3 separate regions of the Homo sapiens genome follow, and regions 1 and 3 are each linked to region 2. The links are contacts of gene promoters, found by promoter capture Hi-C in blood cells and fetal thymus (Javierre and others, 2016). All regions are on one chromosome and are shown on one strand. Each heading gives the region's core, a stretch centred on a gene start or on the middle of the fragment in contact. The rest is flanking DNA. Distances are from core to core; before and after follow the strand shown. Region 1 overlaps MBOAT1 (membrane bound glycerophospholipid O-acyltransferase 1). Region 2 holds the start of TDP2 (tyrosyl-DNA phosphodiesterase 2). Region 3 holds the start of SOX4 (SRY-box transcription factor 4).

Region 1 (2,700 bases), core at 1-2,500, 4.5 Mb before region 2:
TTTATCTCTTTAGATATAATCTTTTCATGAAATTTTCCTTTATAAATGTAATTCCTGGCTGGGTGTGGTGGCTTCCGCCTGTAATCCCAGCACTTTGGGAGGCCAAGGCAGGAGGATCACTTAAGCCCAGGAGTTCAAGACCAGCCTGGGCAACACAGTGAGACCCTGTCTCAATAAAAAATAAAAATAAAATAATAAATGTAATTCCAAGGCCAAGCTACAGAATACTTGAGAGTATTTGACTATATGGCATCTTTCGTATGTATGACTTGATTTTAGACTGCTAAAGGAAATTTCTACATGTTCACAGAAATCTGAAACAACTGGGCCAAAAAAAAAAAGATACTAATAGCTGCATTTATAACTGGAGGTGATGAGTATATCAACTGCACACAATGAAAATGGGAATAGAGTATGTCATCTTTAAATAACTCAAGATAAACATTTCACTACCAGCAAGTGAGCCATGAATTAACTTTCAAATTAGAAATTGGTCCCATTTAATCTGATATTCAGGTTCCAAATAATAAACAGGCCTAATTCAGTTGGTAAAAAGAACTGGCTCCCAATTTTATCTTAATTAAGTCATTCATTCCAATCCAAAAATGTAAATAAAATTCCATTTCAATTCAACAAACATGTATTTAGTTCCTACTTTGTGCTAACCATACAAAGATGACGAAGATTCATCTTCAGTGGTGGTAAATAAAATTAGTAAGGAGCAATTATTTTGGACCGAGCTCCTGCACCAGGCCCCAACAGACCAGACCAAACCAGAATGGAGTCACTGATGCCAGGAGCTATATAAACAAACAACTTTACAATGGGCCCGTTTAAAAAAAAAAAAAAAATAGGAGATTCACAGCAACCAACAGAAAAGGGGCCCAGTCTACCTGAGCCAGCATAAGGAAGTCCCATCTTTTTTAACCTTATAAGGAAAGTAACTTTGCTTGTTATTCTTTGCTTCTGCTTTCTTCAGCCTTTTCTACCTGTAAAGTCCACCTCTTCAGCTCAGCTCAGCCTTGCTGTTTTACAGATGGGAAGCTGCCTGATTCATGAATCACTAATAAAAGACAATTCCATCTTTAAATTCAATTTGTTAACATTTTCTTCTTTGATAATGATCACTACCCATAAAGAATGAGACTCTCTTCTCTTCCTCCTAGAATATTCTGACTGTCTCACCTGGCCCCTCTCCCCTCTAATTTCCCTCCTGCTTCTAAAGTAGCTGCTCCCAGGAAGTTCTCCCCTAGCACTGTCTCAGGAGAGGCCCAGAGATGCCGAGGCCCCGTGTCCTCTGGCAGTGGTGTGTGCATTGGGCACGTGATATTTCAAGGCTTACAGGCAAACAGCAGTTTACCAAGTATCTACATGTTTGTCTCACAGAAGGCACAGATAACTCACTAATCTCTGTATCTCCATTTAGCCCACTAGCATACAGCGCTCAGTAAGTAACTATGGAAAGATGCCTCTCAGAGTCAGGCAGGACAGAGAGACCAATAAATATCTAAGAAGTAAAGTAAAAGGCAGAGCAATGTGATATGGATAGGACGCTATGGAGAAACAGAGAGAAAGAAGGGGTCCATTTGGCCCTGGTGGGGAGGGAGGGCTGGGTTACAGAGGGAAGACGAGGAGAGGATTTTAGGGCCCAGCCTGAAAACAGGAATTGAGGACCAGGATGAGGAATAAACCTCCAAGGAGAAGGAAGTGTGTGTGTGCAGAGGCTGGAGGGTATGAAAGACACACTGTGTTTGAGGGATAGGAAGTAAAGAGTTCACTGTGCTGAAAGCACAGCACACAGGGAAAATGGTGCTGGAATGCAGTGCAGCAACCAGGAGCACGGCCTCCAGTGACAGACCTGAGTTCGAGTCCTGCCTCTGCCCCTTCCCAGCTACAAGCAAGTAACATAAGCCCTGGGGGCTGCTTCCTAACTTGAAATTTGGGGAACAGGCTGGGTGTGGTAGCTCACAACTATAATCCCCGCATTTTGGGAGGCTGAGGTGAGAGGATCGTTTCAGGCCAGGAGTTTAAGACCAGCCTGAGCAACATGGCAAGACCACATCTCTATAAAAAATACAAAAAAATTAGCCAGGTGGGGTGGTATGCACCTTTAGTCCCAGCTACTTGGGAAGCTGAGGCAGGAGGATTGCTTGAGCTCAAGAGTTTGAGACTGCAGGGTGCCATGATCAAGCCAGTGTACTCTACCCTAGGCAACAGAGTGAGATCCCATCTCAGAAAGAAAAGAGAGAAAAGGAAGGAGGAAAGAAGAAAAGAAAGAAGAAATTTAGGGAAAGAAGGAAGAAATTTGGGGAATAACTTTTAGTGCTGTATTAACTGAGAGAATGTATGCAGAGCAGTGCTGAGAGCGTAAGCATTCAATGTATGGAGTTGTCAGTGTCCTTAAGCCAGACAGGTAAACTGAGGCCAAGCTGTGAAGAATCACCTCTTGTTCCACAACAGGAAGGCTAAAGCTCCAGGACACACTAGGCCTTTGCTTCAAATGCCAGGGAATATATGGCCATACCTGTGATCTCTCTGTCCTCCCTTCAATTATCGTCAAATCTAGCCACTAGACTGTGACACCAGTCAGCAGTCTCTGGTAGGCCAGCCCATCTTCTGGACTTATCCAGAATCCCCCAGCATGGAGACCGCCCATCTTCACACAGGCTCTGAGGGACAGTCCCCAACTCCACCAGGCCT
Region 2 (2,700 bases), core at 67-2,566:
TAAATATTTATTGGGAGCTTATTATGTGTCAAATGTTGTGTCAGACTTTGGGAAATTAACAATGTACAAAACAGATACTCCTTACTAGATGTGCAGTCTAGTAGGAGACATAAAATAATGAACAGCAATTATAATACGGACTAAGGTATTGTAACAGGGGTCATGCAGGATGCTATAAGAGTACCTAAAAGGGGACTCTTACCCAGACTTAGGACATCAGGAAAAGCTTCCTAGAGATAAATCATGTCTCAGCTTGGGGCTTTAAGACAAATATTAGCAAGGAAGGGAAAAGAAAAAAATTCCAGGCACAGGTAATAAAGATCTTTACGAAGTTTCAAAGACAGGAGAAAATGACCCGTTGGAAAAAAGTAAAAGTTTGATAGGCCTGGAACCTGGAAAGGCAGGTTCTAAGTTATGGAGCCAAATAGTAGAGGGCCTTGTAAGGCAGCTACACTTTTTAAGTGCAGGAACTGGAGAGGGGCACTGAAATAACAGGAGTAGGTGTGCATTAAAAAAAAATAACAACAACAACAAACCTGTTATTCTGGCCGGTCAGCCTAGGGCCTAGAATAAATAAACAATACAGGAAGCAAGGAGACTTCCAAGTTGCCATTTTTCGATAGAAGGTTTAGCCTTCGTTCATTTGTTTCAAACCTCTCGCTTACTTATTTCCTTTCATTTGAGTTAAACATTACATTTCCATCTTTTCCTCCCTGGACCCCAAATCACGTTCGAAGCGACAGTCTGGTGCAGTGTTAGATCCGCTGCTGGGGCGCAACTCCGCGCAGCAGCAGCAACGCAAGCCCTGCTCCTCTGGCTACGCAGCTTGGAGATCTGCCTCAGCATCGTCCGCCCAGCTCCACGGCAGGTCCCAGGACGCGCAGGGCTACCTGGTATCAAACTGCCTCCGTGCGGACTGGCTCCCGCTCCCCTCATCACTTACTAGGTCTTGGGCTCAGAGATGGTTTCAGGTCGGCGTTCCAAGGCGCTCTCCTCCACCGGAGGCTCGAAGTAGGAGTTCAGAGCCCTCTGAAAAACAAAGGCACAAGGGATGAGGTTTGTGCGCTCCACCGACCTAGGTAATGGAGCCGGAAGCGAGGACAGCGAAAGCGTACTTCCATCTCCCAGTCGTTCTCGGCCAGGAAGCACTGAGCCACTGCGGCATCGCAGCTTGCGACCGAGGCAAACTCCACACACAGAAGTCGCCGCTTTTTCACCTCAGGCTCGCCCTCTTCCTCCGCCGCCTCCCTCCCGCCCTCCAGGCAACTCCCCAACTCCATCTTCCTGCCGCCTCTGCACCGCCCCTTTAAGCGGAACAGGAGGCCAACGCGCGGCTCTGCGCAGGCGCCTGTGTCATGGCGCTCCCGCATCAACCGCCCGGCGGGGAAATGCGCTGCTCTCGGAAAACTGGTGCAGCTGCGCCGCAAGGGAGCCGCCGGGGCGGTGGGTGCGAAGCGCGCATGCGCGCTTCGTCACAAGGGTGCGAGGAAAGTCAGTGAGCAAATCGCGGACCACCGGGGCTGCCAGCTCGCCTGACTCCCGGCCTCTTGCGCTCCTAGGGGCGGAGAAGGGTGCGGGCTCTTCGCCCTTTGTGTCCTCCTTCTTTCACTAACTTCTGGACTTTCCAGCTCTTCCGAAGTTCGTTCTTGCGCAAAGCCCAAAGGCTGGAAAACCGTCCACGATGACCAGCATGACTCAGTCTCTGCGGGAGGTGATAAAGGCCATGACCAAGGCTCGCAATTTTGAGAGAGTTTTGGGAAAGGTATGGGAAAGGTAGGGGAGAAGCCGTGGCTTCTAATGAAGGAAAAGAAAGCACCGTGCTTGGTGCCGTTGTGAGCTTTGAATAATTATCTCTTGTTAGGTTGTGTTCTAGTACGCCTGTAAATTCACCTTAGTAATAATGATTATTACTTTAATGGAGCCCCTAAATATGCTGGGTCGAACGCGTAAGTTCTCTATCTAAACATAGATAAGTATGGTTATGACTCGTGGAGACAGTTCCAAGGCTGGGAGGGACTTTGGAGTTTGATCCTTCAACCAACAAACGTCTGCATTGCTCCAGAGAAGAGTAAGAGAAACCTCTGCATTTAAGGCACATTACAGTCTAATTCTCTAGGCTCTAGAAGATTAGAAGATAAATAATTGCAATAAGGTACAAAAGCCAAGTGCTTGGTAGAGTGGTGAACGAAGGGAGAAGTTGTTCCTCTGTAGTGGTTTGGGAAATTTCTCAAAGGCACCCAACTCCTGAAGAAGTAAGTTAGCCCTTGGAGGAAGACTGAGTGCTTTTCTGAGACCAGCACTCACAAAGCCCGAAGGTGTTTGTTTGTTTTTGTTTTTTTAGGATGAGGTTTCGCCCTTGTTGCCTAGGCTGGAGTGCAATGGCGCGATCTCGGCTCACTGCAACCTCCACCTCCCTGGTTCAAACAATTCTCCTGCCTCACTCAGCCTCCCGAGTGGCTGGGATTACAGGCATGCGCCACCATGCCCAGCTAATATTGTACTTTTAGTAGAGACAGGGTTTCTCCATGTTGGTCAGGCTGCTCTCGAACTCCCGACCTCAGGTGAAACGCCTGCCTCCGCCTCCCAAAGTGCTGGGATTACTGGTGTGAGCCGCCACGCCAGACCTTGAAGGTGTTTGTTGTTGTTGTTGTTTTGAGATGGAGTCTTGCTCTGTTGCCCATGCGGGAGTGCAGTGACACG
Region 3 (2,700 bases), core at 131-2,630, 3.1 Mb before region 2:
TTGAACAACATGCAGCTTTTACTAGGAGTGTGTCTGGCATTTGAATTAGAAAGGAAGATATTAGTATTCATTGAGGGCTTACAATACATCAGGTGCTTCATAGTCACAAATTCATTGAACCCTCACAACAACCCTCTATAAAGTAGCTCCTAGTGTTCCCATATAATAGATGAGGAAAACTGAGACTTGGCCACATCCCCATAGTTACAAACCATTAAGAAGGATTAGCAGCCAGGTCTACTATGAATCCGGAGGCCCCATTCTCTTCTGCTACCAGTTATCACCTCCTTCTACAGTTTCTCTTTGCCTTGGTTTTTCAGTTCCCTTCGATTCAAGTAACAAGAGGAAATATATAAGAAGGAAAGGAGGAAGATGGCTTTGGGAGGAGGAGAGGGAAGAGAGTGAAGCAATCTTTAATTTTGAAAACAGGGAAAACAAATATTTAGAAAGTAAAACCGATTTCCATCCTTTACATGCCATTATACATCCTATACAAAACTCTGGAAATCTGCCTATTGAGGTAATTACGGAGCACTACCTAATGTGTTTCAAGGGAAAGCTCCCCTGTTTGGGCTATGCAGGATTTACAGGGAGTTTAAATCATTAAATAACCATAGTTGACCCTTGCTTGGTTAAGAGAGTAAGCAATTATTGCAAAGTCCTCTTCCCTGCCTTCCACAAACAGCACAAAAACGGTTCTGAAGGGATTTACACAATACATCAACATCTGTGCTGTACCTAGAGTTGTTAAAATAATTGTGATGACAGGTGTCTAGGTACCACTTTCTTAATGGTTTTCAATATCCATTGATTTATTGTTTTGTGGCTTTCTCTTCCCCTTTACAGCTTTGGCTTTAAGAAAGAGCTGGGGAACAGATTTTGCACCAGAGGCTGATTCTTTATTCCAATGCTGAAAAGAACTAATAAAAATAATCACTTGGCTTTTAAGCAGAAAGCTTCCATTTACAGTATTTCACCCTTACCCCGCCCCGTTCCAAGCCCCTTGTTATCTAACATAATGGTTAGAATACATTTCCGTCTCTCCCCTTAATAATTTCATGCATTAACATCCTCTTCACACACTATACACACACGCACGCGCGCACACACACGCGCGCGCACACACACAGCAAAAGGAAAAAAGAGGCAGCAGAAATCTCAGCTGTACTTCTAGCCCTTTTAAAAAGTTTGCTCTGTAAATTGGAATGAGGTCAGATTTGGAGCTTCTCATTGCACGCGGAGATTATTATTGCATCGGGTTCCAAGCCAATGGGAAGCCCGGGGGAGGGGTTTGGCATGAGGAAGCGTTGGTTACAGCAGCTGATTGGCTGCAGCCAAGACTGTGAAAGGATAAAGAGGCGCGAGGCGGAATTGGGGTCTGCTCTAAGCTGCAGCAAGAGAAACTGTGTGTGAGGGGAAGAGGCCTGTTTCGCTGTCGGGTCTCTAGTTCTTGCACGCTCTTTAAGAGTCTGCACTGGAGGAACTCCTGCCATTACCAGCTCCCTTCTTGCAGAAGGGAGGGGGAAACATACATTTATTCATGCCAGTCTGTTGCATGCAGGCTTTTTGGCTTCCTACCTTGCAACAAAATAATTGCACCAACTCCTTAGTGCCGATTCCGCCCACAGAGAGTCCTGGAGCCACAGTCTTTTTTGCTTTGCATTGTAGGAGAGGGACTAAGTGCTAGAGACTATGTCGCTTTCCTGAGCTACCGAGAGCGCTCGTGAACTGGAATCAACTGCTTCAGGGAAAAAGAAAAAAAAAAAAAAAAGACTTGCCTGGGAGGCCGCGAGAAACTTGCATTGGAAGCTTCAGCAACCAGCATTCGAGAAACTCCTCTCTACTTTAGCACGGTCTCCAGACTCAGCCGAGAGACAGCAAACTGCAGCGCGGTGAGAGAGCGAGAGAGAGGGAGAGAGAGACTCTCCAGCCTGGGAACTATAACTCCTCTGCGAGAGGCGGAGAACTCCTTCCCCAAATCTTTTGGGGACTTTTCTCTCTTTACCCACCTCCGCCCCTGCGAGGAGTTGAGGGGCCAGTTCGGCCGCCGCGCGCGTCTTCCCGTTCGGCGTGTGCTTGGCCCGGGGAACCGGGAGGGCCCGGCGATCGCGCGGCGGCCGCCGCGAGGGTGTGAGCGCGCGTGGGCGCCCGCCGAGCCGAGGCCATGGTGCAGCAAACCAACAATGCCGAGAACACGGAAGCGCTGCTGGCCGGCGAGAGCTCGGACTCGGGCGCCGGCCTCGAGCTGGGAATCGCCTCCTCCCCCACGCCCGGCTCCACCGCCTCCACGGGCGGCAAGGCCGACGACCCGAGCTGGTGCAAGACCCCGAGTGGGCACATCAAGCGACCCATGAACGCCTTCATGGTGTGGTCGCAGATCGAGCGGCGCAAGATCATGGAGCAGTCGCCCGACATGCACAACGCCGAGATCTCCAAGCGGCTGGGCAAACGCTGGAAGCTGCTCAAAGACAGCGACAAGATCCCTTTCATTCGAGAGGCGGAGCGGCTGCGCCTCAAGCACATGGCTGACTACCCCGACTACAAGTACCGGCCCAGGAAGAAGGTGAAGTCCGGCAACGCCAACTCCAGCTCCTCGGCCGCCGCCTCCTCCAAGCCGGGGGAGAAGGGAGACAAGGTCGGTGGCAGTGGCGGGGGCGGCCATGGGGGCGGCGGCGGCGGCGGGAGCAGCAACGCGGGGGG

What was found. The method cuts DNA at HindIII sites, captures the fragments that hold promoters and counts their contacts. A CHiCAGO score of 5 or more calls a contact.
Region 1: a fragment that was not itself captured here is called in contact with the fragment with the promoter of TDP2 in region 2 in 1 of 17 cell types (M0 macrophages); the score reaches 5.9 in M0 macrophages.
Region 3: the fragment with the promoter of SOX4 here is called in contact with the fragment with the promoter of TDP2 in region 2 in 1 of 17 cell types (fetal thymus); the score reaches 5.5 in fetal thymus.

Annotation. Positions count from the first base shown.
Region 1 is chr6:20,202,966-20,205,665 of GRCh38, forward strand. The region is part of intron 1 of MBOAT1 (membrane bound glycerophospholipid O-acyltransferase 1); the gene reads right to left. Among named protein-coding and RNA genes, the nearest start is that of MBOAT1, 8.2 kb to the right of the region's middle. The HindIII fragment of the contact is 4,589 bases long and covers 1-2,700 here.
Region 2 is chr6:24,665,583-24,668,282 of GRCh38, forward strand. It overlaps TDP2 (tyrosyl-DNA phosphodiesterase 2), which reads right to left and starts at 1,317. Exons shown (of 7, transcript NM_016614.3): 1 at 1,116-1,317; 2 at 944-1,029. The coding sequence starts at 1,280. It overlaps ACOT13 (acyl-CoA thioesterase 13), which reads left to right and starts at 1,495. Exons shown (of 3, transcript NM_018473.4): 1 at 1,495-1,762. The coding sequence starts at 1,682. RefSeq lists enhancers at 363-1,035, 1,036-1,707, 1,239-1,533. The HindIII fragment of the contact is 8,130 bases long and covers 225-2,700 here.
Region 3 is chr6:21,592,371-21,595,070 of GRCh38, forward strand. It overlaps SOX4 (SRY-box transcription factor 4), which reads left to right and starts at 1,381. Exons shown (of 1, transcript NM_003107.3): 1 at 1,381-2,700. The coding sequence starts at 2,165. RefSeq lists a silencer at 1,992-2,171. The HindIII fragment of the contact is 853 bases long and covers 955-1,807 here.